Regions from separate parts of the Homo sapiens genome. Here region 1 is linked to region 2. Evidence: promoter capture Hi-C in 16 types of primary human blood cells and fetal thymus (Javierre and others, 2016). All regions are on one chromosome and are shown on one strand. The core of a region is centred on a gene start or on the middle of the fragment in contact, and the rest is flanking DNA. Distances in the headings are between cores, read along the strand shown. Region 1 overlaps CASK (calcium/calmodulin dependent serine protein kinase). Region 2 holds the start of GPR34 (G protein-coupled receptor 34).

Region 1 (3,566 bases), core at 414-2,913, 140 kb before region 2:
ACCCACTGATGAAACTTCAAAAAAATGTTAGCCATTCTAATAGGTGTGACCACTGAGATTCTAATTTTGTTACTGCATGTTTCCCCCTGGATGTTCCTCTGGTTCTTTTTAAAATCTGCTATGTCATTAACATTTTTTTTCTGCTCTCTGAAGATATTTTACAAGCTTATTATTGATTTTTAAAAACCTGGGCTAGGCGTGGTAGCTCACACTTGTAATCCCAGCACTTTGGGAGGCTAAGGTGGAAGGATCACTTGAGCCTAGGAGTTGGAGATCAGCCTGGGCAACATAGTGAGACCTCATCTCTACAAAAAAAAAAAAAAGAAAAAGAAAAAAATTAGCTGGGTGTGGTGGTGCACGCCTGTTGTCCCAGCTACTGGGAAGGCTGAGGTGGGTGGATTGCTTGGGTCCAGGAGGTCGAGGCTGCAGTGAGCCATGATCATGCCATTGCACTCCAGCCTGGGCGAGAGCACAATACCTTGTCTCAAAAACAAACGAACCAACTTCGTAAGCTTATTTTTAAAATCTTTGTCTCTTAATTCCAATATATGCAGTAGGTTTGGGTTTGTTTCTACTATCTGTCATTTCTGTTGGGTCTTACTTGTTTCCTTGTGTGCCTGATAATTTTGACTTGCTGGCTACTGCCCTGGAAAAAGTTTATGTCGGGCGGATAGGATGAAGTTAGTGGGGGTTAGGATAAAAGTGTTTGCCTTCAGAGACTTTCTGTTTATACCATACATCTGAAACTATTAGTAAAGAAAGGGGAAACTTCAAATCAAGTACATGGCTTCAGCTCCCCTGGCTGCCCCAGGCTGTGTGTACCTGGGTGCAAATCCATTCAAGGTGGACTGGTGGCCACAATTTGGAAGTTTGTTCCCAATTTCCTCATCTTTTGCTTTGCTCAGTGACAAGGCAGCTTTCTCTATAGTCCTCCGGTGTTGAAGGGAAATAAGGGTATGCTTATCTGTTTCCTTTTAGCCTGGGGGGACTGCCTCTTGCACTCCTAACAATGAGGAGGGTCTTCTAACAGATTCCCCAACTTGTACTGGCCTTAGATCTTAACCTTGGTTCTCTGGCACAGAAGTGTTCAGTAATGACAAATGCCCTGTTTGCAAAATGGGCCACTTGGTAACTCTGATATTCCACTTATCATTCTTATTAAAGGCTTTCACATAAAAATTGGTCACTGAGGCCTGGTGTGGTGGCTCACACCTGTAATCCCAGCACTTTGGGAGGCCAAAGTGGGTGGATCACGAGGTCAGGAGTTCACGACCAGCCTGGCCAACATGGTGAAACCCTGTCTCTACTAAAAATATGTGGTGGCGGGTGCCTGTAATCCCAGCTACTCAGGAGGCTGAGGCAGGAGAATTGTTTGAACCCAGGAGGTAGAGGTTGCAGTGACCTGAGATCATGCCATTGCACTGCAGCCTGGGCCACAGGGCGAGACTCCGTCTCAAAAAAAAAAAAAAAAAAAAAAAAAATTGGTCACTGAGCTCCCCAGTACCTTTTTTTATTTCCCGGACACAGAGTCTCACTCTGTCGTCCAGGCTAGAGTGCAGTGGCGCGATCACGGCTCACTGCAACTTCCACTTCTCGGGCTCAAGCAATTCTCCTGCCTCAGCCTCCCAAGTAGCTGGGATTATAGGTGCCTGCCATCACACCTGGCTAATTTTTTTTTTTTTTTTTATTTCAAGTAGAGACAGGGTTTTACCATGTTGGTCAGGCTAGCTTCGAACTCCTGACCTCAAGTGATCTGCCCACCTCGGCGTCCCAGAGTGCTAGGATTACAGGTGTGAGCCACCATGCCTGGCCCCTGATACCTTTTCAGCTATTCAGTGCTTTCAAGGTCATTTGAAAAACATATTTTCTGCGGCACTTTTCATTTTTTTTCATCAGGAGGATTTATCCAAATAATCTCATCCACCATTACAGGAAATAGGAAGCAAATCTGCTTTTTGCACTGCCATCACTCAGGATTCCTCCAGAGGACTCAGAGTTCTAGAAATTGGTGAAACATTTATATAGATGATCTGACTAGGCAGAAGAGGTCTGGAATCTACACAATTATTTTCAATAAATGCCCATAATATATGGTAACATTAAAGAAGACATTCTGTAAAATGTAAATATCAGTAAGAATATAATGGCATCATCACGGCAACGACTTAAAGATTGCTTTCCTCCTGCTTATGCTTGAACTGTTTCTCGAAGATCAGACTGAAAGACAATGCCAGATGGAAGGCTGCTGCTTCTCCATTTGGGCCCACGTTTCCTTATGTATAAAATGATGGCATCTGAAGTCCTCATCAGCTCCAACATTCTAAATTTAATACTATTTTTTGGGGAAACATGGGATAGCTGAAAGAGGCGATCAAGCAAAAGAGATTAACTGAGAAATCTCTTAACTAGTGAGAAAAATAGATAAAAGCAGGTAGAAATTTCTATGGACTCAATGTCTTTGGTCTCTTTTAGCTGGGTTCAAGTATTTTAGGAGGAACTGGCAGGATGCTTAATGGCTGTTATTTTTTGCCACATGAAACAAAACTCAGACATTATCTCTTTTGTGCTAGAAATAATCTGGTATATTGCCCAAGTACCAACAAAGGTAAAACCATCAATATTTTCCAAAAGACAGTTCAACTAAGGAAACGGTAACAATAATAGCAGAAATAGATTTTATCAAAATATACAGTGATCTGTGACTCCTTTTCTCTCAGTTAAAAACAGTGCCTAAAACCCCTAACTTTAGCCTGCTTTTAGGGCTTAAACTTTCTAGCAGAAAAGGTATTTTTAAAGGACTGGCAAGGTAAAGAACAAAGCTTCTGACTACCTCCTTCTAACAGTGAAATACATTTTATCTTCAAATACTCTGAGTGACACTGAAGCACTGCACCTACATTTTTTGCTGGTGGTGGGAATGGGATGGGCATGAAAGCATGTAGAAGGGCAAGGAGAACGTACATTTTTTTAATGCCATTCTAAAACAATTATAACAGCATATAGGAGTGGAGGGCTCTGCTGTGAGACCATGACTTGGCTCAGGGCTGCTCATCCAATCTCTTTCCAGACCTTCCTTTCTTTTTGTGTAAAATGAAGCCCTGACTCTGCAACTAGGATCTCACTAGATACTGAAGATATAGAATTCTTGGATGACTAATTTAAATTTTGTTTGGCTCGTAAAGGAAGGAATATATCAAACAGGTTTTACACTCTAAAATAATATAAAATTGGAAAATGGATGGTCAGGGCTTTGTTTTTATAACCAAGCAAAGCAAAACACGCATAAAAACATACCATTCCTGAAGTTCAGGAGAAGGAATGAGACCTGCAGTTCCATTTTTGGAGTTTTCCAGTTTACCCTGCCACCAATTATGATCATCCTTACTAATAATCTGGATGATGTCACCAACTCTGAATCGAATGCCAGCTTCTTTACAGGGGATGAGGTCATCCTTGGCTGGATCATATTCAAATTGTGCTCTTACATAGATCTATAAAACAGGAGTTCGTAAGAAAGGATGCCATAGTGATGTGAAAGAGAAGTTAGCTCTAATGTCATAACCACA
Region 2 (3,563 bases), core at 843-3,342:
ATAATCCCAACAAGAGAAAGAGGAAGCGTGAAGGGAAGAGGACATATCGAAAATGAGCTAAGAACGCAGAGACAAACCAGAATGTTCAGAATGAACAGGAAAAAGCTTATATAAAGAAAGAACTAGAAAAAGATTATACTCAAATCTGGTGGTAGCTGTGCTGACTCACATTGAGGAGAAAATGTGGTCACAATATGAGGAAACTGAAGATTAAAACAATTAGTGTTTTGAAAAGGGTTGTCTTAGGTGTAGGAAAATAATATAGAAAAAAATATATTCATGCTAGATTATATGAAATAGAATGCACGTAGTTAAATGCCTATTTAGTCATTAAAAAATTCCTGCTAGGATCTTGAAGAGATATATGCATACTCATGTTCACTGCAGCATTATTCACATTAGTCAAGAGGTGGAAGCAACCCAAAAATCCATCAACAGATGAATGCATAGGGAAAATGTGGTGCATATACAGTGGAATATAATGCAGTTTGATAAAAGAAGGAAATCCTGTAACATGCTGCAACGCAGATGAACCTCGAGGATATGACACCAAGTGAAATAAACATGTCACAAAAGGACAAATACTGTGTGATTCCACTCATATGAAGTGTCCAAAGTAGTCCAAATCAATGAAACATAAAGAATCATGATTGTCAAGGGCAGGGGGAGAGGAGAGAAATCGTTTAGTGGTGAAGAGTTTTAGTTTTGCACGATGAAAAACTTCTAGAAACTGTTGCACAACAATGTGAATATACTTAACACTATTGAATTGTATACTTAAAAATGGTTAAGATGGGGCTGGGCGCAATGGCTCACACCTGTAATCCCAGCACTTTGGGAGGCTGAGGTGGGTGGACCACCTGAGGTCAGGAGTTTGAAACTAGCCTGGCCAACATGGCAAAACCCTGTCTCTATTAAAAATACAAAATTAGCCGGGCATGGTGGTGCATGTCTGTAATCCCAGCTACTTGGGAGGCTGAGGCAGGAGAATCGCTTGAACCTGGGAGGTGGAGGCTGCAGTGAGCCGAGATTGTGCCATTGTACAATCTCTTGTCGCCTGGGCAACAAGAGCGAAACTCCGTCTCAAAAAAAAAAAAAAAAAAAAAAGTTAAGATGGTAAATTTAATGTTACATATTGTACCACAATAAAATAAAATCCTGCCAATACAACAATATTGCAGGACTAATACAGCAACCACCTTCCTTCTCAGAGGTTCTAAGGGGAAGTAAGAGCTACAAAACATTTTTATTCTATTAATTTAAAAATATCCTGTCCCATAAATCATATTTATAACAAACAAAAAGCTCTGGAGAATATAATGTTCAGAAGAGTGTACCCAGAAATAATTAGAATGTTAGATACAGCCCAATGAGTCAAATATTTAGTGCAAACAAGCTGCAGGATAACAATTATGGGGAGAATAAAAACTAACTTCTTCATTTCAAATGACAACAAAAAAAGGGAAATAACACTAAACTGCAGGGCCAGCAGTTACATAGATGGACAGATAGTGGTTAAATTTTGGACTAGGATCAAAACCAAGACTGCAGAATCCCATCATTATTTCGCTTAAAATACAGGTGATGTTTTAATTTGCTCGGGAGAGTTTATCATAGTGATCAAAAGGGGAGAACACCATCAGAAATCTCATCTAGTCCTAATAATACAAGTTTGTTTTAGCAAAGGTCTTAAAGGAATACATGAAAATATGCTAAAATAATGTACAGATGAAAACTTAAGAAACAGAAATTCAGTGCTTGTGCTTTGAAAGTCCATATAGCATATTATGTATCATTTCTTACAAAACACAGAAAATACATATTTCTGCTTAGAATTTATAAAACTTTTAAATTTTGAGCGGGGGGAGGAAAACATTCCACAATTGTCAAGTTGGAAGGTATTCATAAAGAAGATATAAATAATTTCCTAAAGTTCAGTGTTGGTTGAGCTTAAAGTTGTTCCATGGTAGTAGGGCTTTTTAATATTTTCAAAAGGAATCTGAGAGTTGTCATACCGAAAAAAGAAAAAAAAAAAGAGGGGGAAAAAAAAAACCCTACCACCACATATGAACATAAAAAAGAAGAGAACCCCAACCAATTGCACCACGACCGGATGGAAGAGCCCAGCTGACACAACCAAGACGAGTCTCAGTGTCTAGGGAAGCTTGGGGTTCTGCTCCTTTTACTTCAGGCGAACCTGAACTGTGAGTATTTCTTGATTTCGGCTACATAAATGAACCTTTATTTCAGCTAAAATTTGATTATCTGAACATTCAAAGTGAAACGTGATTCATGGTGATAAGGCTACTCTAATGTCAGCAGTTATTCGCTTTTAGAACTACTGAGTAAATTGCTTGAATGACACCTCTGCCTTGATTTCAAATGAGACTGTCTTTTTAGTTACTTTAAGTACTTTAAGACATTCAAGGTATTTAAGCTCCTACTGTCAATATAGTCACATTGTTGATACTGCATTTGGATACTGCCATCAAGATTTTGCAGATCTACTTGCATGAATTAAAAGTTATTTTCATATGCAATACATTTTATTTCTAATGTATTATAAATTATAACTTATTGACTTTAAGTTATGCTGTCTCCCTATTTTAAATTACTGTCTTTTCTTTATTATATTATTACTATTTTATAGTATTACCAGACCATATAACATTTAAGTTTGGTGTTTCAGAAGTAAATAAGGTGAATATTAGATAAGAGAGAAAGCAAAATATGCTTTAGTTCAAATAATAATTTTTTAAAATGTGTTTCTAGGGACACAGTTAAATTTGTAACAAAACCTAACACACTATTAATAGTATTATTTCCAAAGTAATATGTTTTCAATTTTCATTTTTTATACAGCAGTTAATGCAATTTTGAAGCATGCCCTGAATAGATTCAGTCATTATCAAGTCAAACTAAAAACGGTGAAAGGTTGCGACTATTACCAAATAGGTATGTATTTCAACATAGCAATGTGATATTTTCACAAACATACCCAAACTGCATTTTAAAAGCTTCTGCTCATCTGGAGTCACAGTGGAATCTGTTGGGTCCTGCCCTCTGGGTCCAGTACTCCTACATGAGCCAGTTGAAAAAAAACTGCAGGAGTAGGTGGTGGTGCGGGGGTACAATGCACTAATACTAGGTTTTTGAACTTGTGAATAGGATTTGCCAAGTAACAACATTTAAAAAACACTATCTACTATTACAAAACTATTGTGACCACTTCAATATAGCACATGGGTCACAAGTAATGCCCACTGGGAAATTAATCCCCTATGTAAACACAGTGGTTTGTTTCTTGTCTTCACAAGCAATTCTTAACATATCAAACAGGTAGTTTAAAAAATATCAGTAAATAGCCTTATATAGTGAATGACATTGTAATGTACTAACCAACTTCAAAGGAGAAAAAAAAACAGTCACCAAGTTTAAAACAGAATGTAATTGTGATTTTTAATTAAAAAAAAAATTTTTTTTTGAGACAGACTCTCGCTCTGTTGCCCAGGCTAGAGTACAGTGGCATGAACACAGCTCACTGCAGCCTCTGTCTCCCGGGT

What was found. Contacts are between HindIII fragments. The CHiCAGO score rates a contact against its expected background, and 5 or more counts as called.
Region 1: a fragment that was not itself captured here is called in contact with the fragment with the promoter of GPR34 in region 2 in 1 of 17 cell types (M2 macrophages); the score reaches 5.0 in M2 macrophages.

The regions. Positions count from the first base shown.
Region 1 is chrX:41,550,425-41,553,990 of GRCh38, forward strand. It overlaps CASK (calcium/calmodulin dependent serine protein kinase), which reads right to left. Exons shown (of 27, transcript NM_001367721.1): 21 at 3,295-3,491. Among named protein-coding and RNA genes, the nearest start is that of CASK-AS1, 34 kb to the left of the region's middle. The HindIII fragment of the contact is 2,307 bases long and covers 511-2,817 here.
Region 2 is chrX:41,686,881-41,690,443 of GRCh38, forward strand. GPR34 (G protein-coupled receptor 34) reads left to right here and starts at 2,093. Exons shown (of 3, transcript NM_001097579.2): 1 at 2,093-2,204; 2 at 2,863-2,955. All of the region lies in intron 5 of CASK (calcium/calmodulin dependent serine protein kinase), which reads right to left. The HindIII fragment of the contact is 2,059 bases long and covers 104-2,162 here.